2 separate regions of the Homo sapiens genome follow, and region 1 is linked to region 2. Evidence: promoter capture Hi-C in 16 types of primary human blood cells and fetal thymus (Javierre and others, 2016). All regions are on one chromosome and are shown on one strand. Each heading gives the region's core, a stretch centred on a gene start or on the middle of the fragment in contact. The rest is flanking DNA. Distances are from core to core; before and after follow the strand shown.

Region 1 (4,122 bases), core at 746-3,245, 360 kb before region 2:
AGGTCGGGGCACAGAGAAAAGTCAGGCTGCAATGCGGTTGCAGCAGAGGCCTCAGTTGATTCCACTGGGAGCTTGGAAGCTGGGTTGGCTCTTGTTCCAGTTGAATTAAGGCAGGGAGGCTGGGCCATTATCTCCCTGCATGGGCCAGCACTAGATTAAGTCACGAGGACTTCATCACTGCCTAAAGGCTCCACCGCTTAATACTGTCACATTGGTGATTAGGTCTTGATGTAACACACTATCACTAATCCCCTCATAAATGGGATTACACCCTTATAAAAGGGCTTGAGGGATTGGATTCATTTACTCGTATTCTGCCATGCGAGGACACAGCTACAAAGTACCATCTTGGTAGCAGAGAGCAGTCCTCACCAGACATGGAATCCACTGGCACCTTGATTTTGGACTTCCCAGTCTCCAGAACTGTGAGAAATAAATTCCTGTTCTTTCTAGGTTATCCAGTCTGAGGTAGTTTGTTACAGCAGCACAAATGGACAAAGACAGGGTGTCTGAATTGAGAGTTATGTTACCTGTTCTCACAGTACTCTGGGGCATGAGCTCCTCCAACATGAAGGAGGGTGTTTGTTGATGCACCACAGTTCCACTATGCAAACATCATCTCATTTTATCCCTTCTAGAATGTTGTAAAGTGGGCATGATTATGCCCATTTTACAGATGAAGAAACTGAAGCTAAGACCAATGGAATAACTTGCAAAAGCTCACAGGGCTGGCAGAGCCAGGATTCAAATCCAAGCTTGATGGGCTCCAAATTAGTCTAAGCTGTTCAATAACTCAGCTCCAAGATTTGGACCTTTGTTTTCGGTTTTCCTGTAACAAAGATCCCCAAGTGATGGATTTCTATTCTTCTCACTGGTTGGACAGGGGATGCCATGTTTGGCAGCTGGGCTTAGGGACACAGACAGCTAATACTTCACAGCTATTGTTTCACTTAATCCCTCCAAGGGCTCTGTGGGGTAGAAACTATTATTAACACTAGTTGACAGGTGAGAAAACTGCAGCATAGAGATGTTAAATAATTTGCCCAGACTCTTGCTGCTGTTAAGTGGTAGAATCAGACTTTGAATCTAGACCAGCTGAATTCAGAGTCTGGGCTTTGAACCTGTAAACTCTACCGGCCGCCTCAGATGAAGGATTATAGGTACTCAGTGGGGAGAGAGTGGAAGGGGCTGGAAGATGCAGGGAAGTCTTCCTGGGGGAAGTGTCACTTAATCAGAAAAGTAACCGCTGAAATGCTGGGTGCGGGGGCTCACGCCTGTGATCCCAGCAGTTTGGGAGGCCGAGATGGGTGGATCACGAGGTCGGGAGATCGAGACCATCCTGGCTAACATGGTGAAACCCTGTCTTTACTAAAAATACAAAAAATTAGCTGGGCGTGGTCGTGGGCGCCTGTAGTCAGCTACTCGGGAGGCTGAGACAGGGGAATGGCATGAACCCAGGAGGTGGAGCTTGCAGTGAGCCGAGGTCGTGCCACTGCACTCTAGCCTGGGCGACAGAGCAAGATTCCATCTCAAAAAAAAAAAACAAAAAAAACCCGTTGAGAAGGATTGAGTGTCTCCTTGATTCAGGCTCTGCATGTTGGCTAGGATGTAATGGGGAGGGAGAACTGGAGAGAGTGTTATGGATGATTGTACTGCAGAAGCGAAGGCAGGGAGGTGAAACTTGAATATACAGTGCACTGGGTACAATGAGAAAAGCAAGCCAGTGGGTGCAGCAGGCACATGACTGTCCCAAGAACATGGCAATGCACCCGAACAAGCACTTGGAAAAGCGCCAGAGCTGCCCTCCCCAGCATGTCTATCACTGCTTGTTCCTTAGCCTTGGAAGAGAGGAGGAATGTTTTCTCCTCCTTAGCTCCTTCCTGGCCACTGACATCTGCCACACTGACCCATACCACAAGCAAGTGCATGCTCCATTCTAGCCTCCTTGGCAGTACCTTTGGGCTTCATGGCTGCTTTCACTGAGTCCTTCACTTGGGTGAGCAGACAGGAAACAATCTGGGCCAGAGAGCTCTGTGCTCCTCAACTGACCAAGTTCCACTACGAAGGCTTCCTCTGAGCCTGGGCCCTGCCCTGGAGGCCCTCCAATGTCCCTGTATGTATGTCAGGGCAGAAGATACAACTGTTCTGAACCCTGGGGGCTGTCTCCAGATGATGCAGCCAAATGTATGTTACCCCAATCCCCTCCCACAAGGTTTCTTGTGGCCTGTGTCCTGGGGTCTACAGATTGGCCATAGAGTTGGTGGCTCCTGGAGAAGGAGGCTCTTGATGGGAAGGGCAAGATTTAAATTGATAAAGAGAAGAAATAAAAGAACAAAGAACAAAGTGAGCAATGGATCTATGTGGGCCAACAATCAGTCATTTATTCAATCAACAAACACTTCTTGAGTACCTACTGAAGCCAGAAAATTTTACAGGAAGGAAAGCATGTCAGCTTGGCTCCAAGCGGTGGCAAAATAATGCTAGAGCTATCTTGCAGGACCTCTCTTCCCCAGGTCCAAAACTGACCTCATGCTGTTCATCTCCTCCTTTTGGATTCCCTGTCTCTGTCAATGACACCACCAGACACCTAACTGCTTAAGCTGGAAAACTGGGCAATATCTCTGATTTCTCTCTCCCTCACGGCCCACGTTCAGTCATCGATGCCTCCCATTGAGCTGCCCTCTGATGGCTCTCAGATCTGGCTGCTGTTCTCCTCTCCCCTGCCTCAACTGTGGGCCCATCAGCTCTGGCCTGGACCTCTATAGTATCTGTGCTTTCACTCTCCCCTCCCTTCTGAACATTCTCTGCACCATGACCAGAGGCGTCAACTGAAAGCAAGTTTCACAGTGCTGTTTCTAGGCTTAAAATCCTTCACTGCTTCCCCTCCTGCCCCAAGGACAGTGTCCAAAGTCCTGTGCTGTGGACCGAATTGTGTCTCTCCCTAGAACTTATATGTTGAAGTCCAAACCCCAGTGTGACTATTTGGATATAGGGTCTTTAAGAAGTAATAAAAGTTTAATGAGCTTGTAAGGGTAGAGTCCTGATCTGATGGGATCAGTGTCCTAAAAAGAGGAAGAGGAGACACCAGGGAGTTCACTCTCTGCCATGTGAGGACACAGCGAGAAGGCGGCCATGTATCAGCCAGGAAGAGTCCTCACTAAAATCTGAATTGGTTGGAACCTCGATCCTAGACTTCCCAGTCTCCAGAACTGTGAGAAAATGCATTTCTATTGTTTAAGCTTCCCAATTTGAGATATTTTGTTAGTGTGGCTGAGCCAACTAATGTACCCTGCAGGGTCTGTCCCCTGCCTACTCTATCCAGCTCATTTCTCTCCATTTTCAGGCTATCACAGAGCTGCTCTTCCTGGAAAGCTTCCCTGGCCCCTTCTAGGAAATGCCATTAGTGTCTGTGCCACCTCCTGGCACTCCCGCCTCCATCTGCAGCTGGAGCTGGAACAGGCAGTTCTCATGCACATCACCTGTGTCCTACCACCAGGCTTCCACTCCAAGTACCTGCTGAAGCTTTTGGCTCCACCCTTCCTTCCTTCCTTTGGAAGGACAATTCTGAGGCATATTCTGAACAATTCTTCAGTCTCCTTGAATTGAGCCCTGGGTGGCCCTAAGTATATCCAGCTGGGTTCCACACCTGCATTGGCTTTGCTTCTTTCCCTTCTTCTGCTCTGCACTCCTCGGCTCTGTGCCCCGAGATCATTGCCCAGATAAACCCCCTGCTCCCATGTCCTTGCCTCAGGTTGGGCTTTCAGGGAACCCAAATCAAGACACCTCTCCTTTCATCCAAACAGGAGTAGGTCCCCTTCTATTATCCCTCCTTAAGCCAGGTACAATTCTTTGTTCTATTTTTCTGTCTAGGTGTCCCCCTCCCCAACTTCAGTGTGAGCTAGAAAAGAGAAGCGACCTGGCTGTCCTATTCCCAGCACACAGCACAGGATGTGGCATGCAGCAGGAACCTCAGTAGGTGTTGTGGAATAAGTGAATGAGAAGTAGGGTGTTCACGACAAAAACAACACACTGGGAACAGCAGAGAACTTCCTCAACATGATAAAGGGCATGTGTTAAAAACCCACAGCTGACATCATAATGCTGAATAACTGAAAGCTTTCC
Region 2 (3,622 bases), core at 327-2,826:
TACCACTTCCCATAGATCTAGGAGGCAGGTGAGCTCTGGGGGTCTGCATCAGTCTCAGACCTCAAAGCAGACCTGGCTGACATCTGCTCCCCACCCTCCACCTCCTCCTCTTCCTCCTCCTTCTCCTCAAAATGACTTATCCTTTTAAGGGATAATGTCTTACAACTAATCAGAGGCCACACACCTTCAAGGGAGGCCAGATCCCTAAGAGTGGCGTTTCAGGCATCACAGCGAACCCAGGAAGCAGGTGTGCGGCTGGGGTCCCAACCTGCCCTGCAGAAGGGCTAACTCTCTCAAGATGTGGGATCTGTCCATAGCTCCATCAACCACTGCTCCCCAAGAGCTGGAGTCCTGTCTTTTACTCCTCCAATGATGGGGTGCTCCCCACCTTGCAAGGCAGCCCACAGCCCCATGTTAGGAATTATTTCAAAAGTATAATGAACATGATGGGGTCATTCAGGATAGGCCTGCTTCCTCTTCCTCCTGAAAGTGCACGGGACAGCTGAAGGAGCCCTCAGGCTCCTACGGAACAGGCCAATGTGCCCCACACCCTTTGCGTCCCAGACTGCCACAGGGACCTGCTCCTCATTGCCCCTCTGCCACGACCTTTCCTTGTCCCTAAAAGTAAACAAAACCCACATGACACCACAGCTAGAAGGTTCTGAGACCCTTCATACAGACATGGAGACAGCCCCAGGTGGGCAAGGGTATTCTCAAAGCCACCCCGGGATTTAGGGCAGAGTGGGGGCTGGAAGGCAGCTCTGGCACTCCACACTCACAGGAGAGTGTCCTGCCCCAGTCCAGGTCTCTCCTTGTGCCCAAGCCTCTGAATGTCTCCCAACCCTAATCTCTGTCCTGCTTCACCTCTTCCCATAAGCCCCACATGCCCAACCCAAAAGCTGCTGGCCACATGCCCACGCTGTGCCACCCCAGGTGTCTGTCCACAGTCAGGCCAGGATGTGGGCAGGGGACACAGGAAGAGCTAAGGGAAAGATGCCACAGAGAGAGGGGAGTCATTAGAGAAGGAAGGGCTGGGAGGTCTGGGCAAAGCTAGGTGTCTGCACGGGGGCTGCAGGGCAGTGGCAGGCAGGACAAAGCCTTCTCTGGAGCAGGTTCCCATTAACACAAGGGTTCCCCTTGGAGCCCACGAGGACAGTGCAGAAGGTGAGGATGTTTGACTCATAGAATGTCAGCCAAGAGACCCACGGAATGGCAGGGGATAGAGCTGTACCTTCAAAGGATCCCATAATCCCAGATGATCTGAGTGGAAGCCTGAGACCCCGAGACAGGCCGCACTTGCCCAGCAGGGCCCATCTGCCTGGACTCCCCATCACCACATCCACCCTACCACAGAGAGCGGCAGCCTTACCCGAGAGATATTGAAGTTTTCCTGCACTTGGATGTTGTCGGGCGGCGTTGGCACAGGGCCAGCGCTCACCGCCAGGCAGGCGCTCAGCAGCAAGAGCAGGGCCCCGAGGCTCCTCATGGCTATGGGCTCCTCTGCCTTGGTATATCCCACAGGCTCGGTCTAGCAACAGAAGGGCCACCGCCTCCCTGCAACAGGGCAGCTGTGAACTGAGGCTGGGGAAGGGGCCTGTGGCTTGTAGTTGACCTCAGTGTTTGCCCTGCTCAGCTGGGGCCAATTACAGCCCCAAGGACAGCTCCAATCGATCCCTGTAGCCTGGCTGGGGTCAGCAGTACCAAGAGGCCGGGATGGCTGCTTCAGAAGAGGCATTGGCCAAGCACAATAGGGCCCTGGAGCACCAGGATTGGGCTCCGCCCCCCAAAAGTCCCCCACAGAGGGCATGCGAGGATGGGGAGCGACCTGGCCTTTCTGCTGAGTCATGCCATCTGGACCTCACAGCTCTGTGAGCCAGCAGGTCAAGCCTGATTGGGCCCATTTCTCACAGGAAAAAACTGAGGCCCAAGGAGAGGAAGTGACTTGCCAGAGACCTCAGGGAAGTCTATGGGCAGAGCCAAGACCAGAACCCAGGTATCCTGTCTCCAGAGTTCCTTCTCCAGCCCCCAGGCTTGCCCTAGCCTTTGCAAATAATAGAGACATTAACAATGATGACTGTTACGAGCTTCCGTTCACTGAGCACCTGCTATGTGCTGGCTGTGTACCAGGCACTTTACACGTGCCACAGGTGTCCAGTAAATCCCCACAACAAGCTTACGAAGTAGGTGCTATTTGTCCCCTTTACAGGCAGAGGAGTTGAGTCTCCAAGAAGTGAAGTGACTTGCCCAGAATCCCTCAGCCGGGAGTGGAGTAGCTGGGAAAGGCGTGGTAGAGACCATGGACGTGGGAGCCAGGCAGCCTACAGTGGCACTCACTGCTGTGTGACCTTGGGCAAGTCACTTTACCTTTCAGTGCCTTGGTTTCCTCATCTGTAAATGGGGATAATAATAGTTCCTAGCTCCTAGCATTGTTGAGTGAGCACCTGCAATGCGCTAGGACAGTACCCAGCATAGAGTAAGAGCTGAGTGTTTGTGGTGGGTTGAACAGTGCCCCCTCCAGAATCCATGTGCACCCCGAACCGCAGAATGAACCTGATTTGCAGATGTGATTAGTTAGATGAGGTTGAACTGGATGACAGGGGTTTTAAATCCAATGACCGGTATCTTTATAAGAGAATGGTGAGGGAGACTCAGACACAGGGACACAGAGAGAAGCACGGGGAAGATGTGGCGTGACGCCGAAGGCAGAGATGGGAGGGATGCAGTGACACGTCAAAAATCACCAAGGATTGATGGCAGCCACCAAAAGCTAGCAAAAGGCAAGGAAGGACTTTTCCCCAGAATCTTCAAAGGGAACATGGCTCTGCTGAAAATTTGGTCTCAGGTGTCTGACCTCCAGTGCTGAGAGAAGACACATTTCCTAGCAGCCCTAGGAAACTAATACAGTAGTTATTAAACTTAAGGTTTTATTTATTTATTTATTATTTTGAGACGGAGTTTCACTCTTGTCGCCCAGGCTGGAGTGCAGTGGTGCGATCTCGGCTCACTGCAACCTCCACATTCTGGGCTGAAGTGATTCTTGTGCCTCAGCCTCCCGAGTAGCTGAGATTACAGGTGCCCACCACCATGCCTGGCTAATTTTTGTATTTTTAGTAGAGACAGCGTTTCACCATATTGGCCAGACTGGTCTCTAACTCCTGACCTCAGGTGATCCTCTCACCTCAGCCTCCCAAAGTGCTGGGATTACAGGCGTAAGCCACTGCGCTCAGCCTAAATTTAAGATTTTAAATGAGAATTTTTTAAAACCCAGGTCCGTTGTCTGTGAGCTCACACTCTTGCCAGCAATACCAAAGGCCTCTCTATGAATTTCCCTTCTCCAGTGGTTAAATCTACTGTCCTTACTTCCTCCCTGCTCTTGGCATGGAACATTCCATACTCTCAGCCACCTCTCTGTTAGAGCTGGGAATGACCCCTTCGGGCAGGCAGTCCCAAGATTAAGACCCCTGCTTATGTGAGAATCAAAGGATTCCCCCATGTAGTCAGTGCAGAAACAAATGGTGTATCATGTCCCTTCTGTAAGATTCAGTCAGTACATCCCTCTTTCACTGGTATCCAGAACAAGTGTGCTTCTATTCATAAATGTGTTTCCTTTGCTCCGTCACCC

What was found. Contacts are between HindIII fragments. The CHiCAGO score rates a contact against its expected background, and 5 or more counts as called.
Region 1: a fragment that was not itself captured here is called in contact with the fragment with the promoter of AMBP in region 2 in 1 of 17 cell types (endothelial precursors); the score reaches 5.1 in endothelial precursors.

What each region holds. Positions count from the first base shown.
Region 1 is chr9:113,716,645-113,720,766 of GRCh38, forward strand. No RefSeq gene overlaps it. Among named protein-coding and RNA genes, the nearest start is that of ZNF618, 160 kb to the right of the region's middle. The HindIII fragment of the contact is 2,484 bases long and covers 754-3,237 here.
Region 2 is chr9:114,076,724-114,080,345 of GRCh38, forward strand. It overlaps AMBP (alpha-1-microglobulin/bikunin precursor), which reads right to left and starts at 1,577. Exons shown (of 10, transcript NM_001633.4): 1 at 1,370-1,577; 2 at 1-17. The coding sequence starts at 1,486. It overlaps LOC107987120 (a long non-coding RNA gene), which reads right to left. Exons shown (of 3, transcript XR_001746905.1): 3 at 3,217-3,622. The HindIII fragment of the contact is 5,279 bases long and covers 1-2,170 here.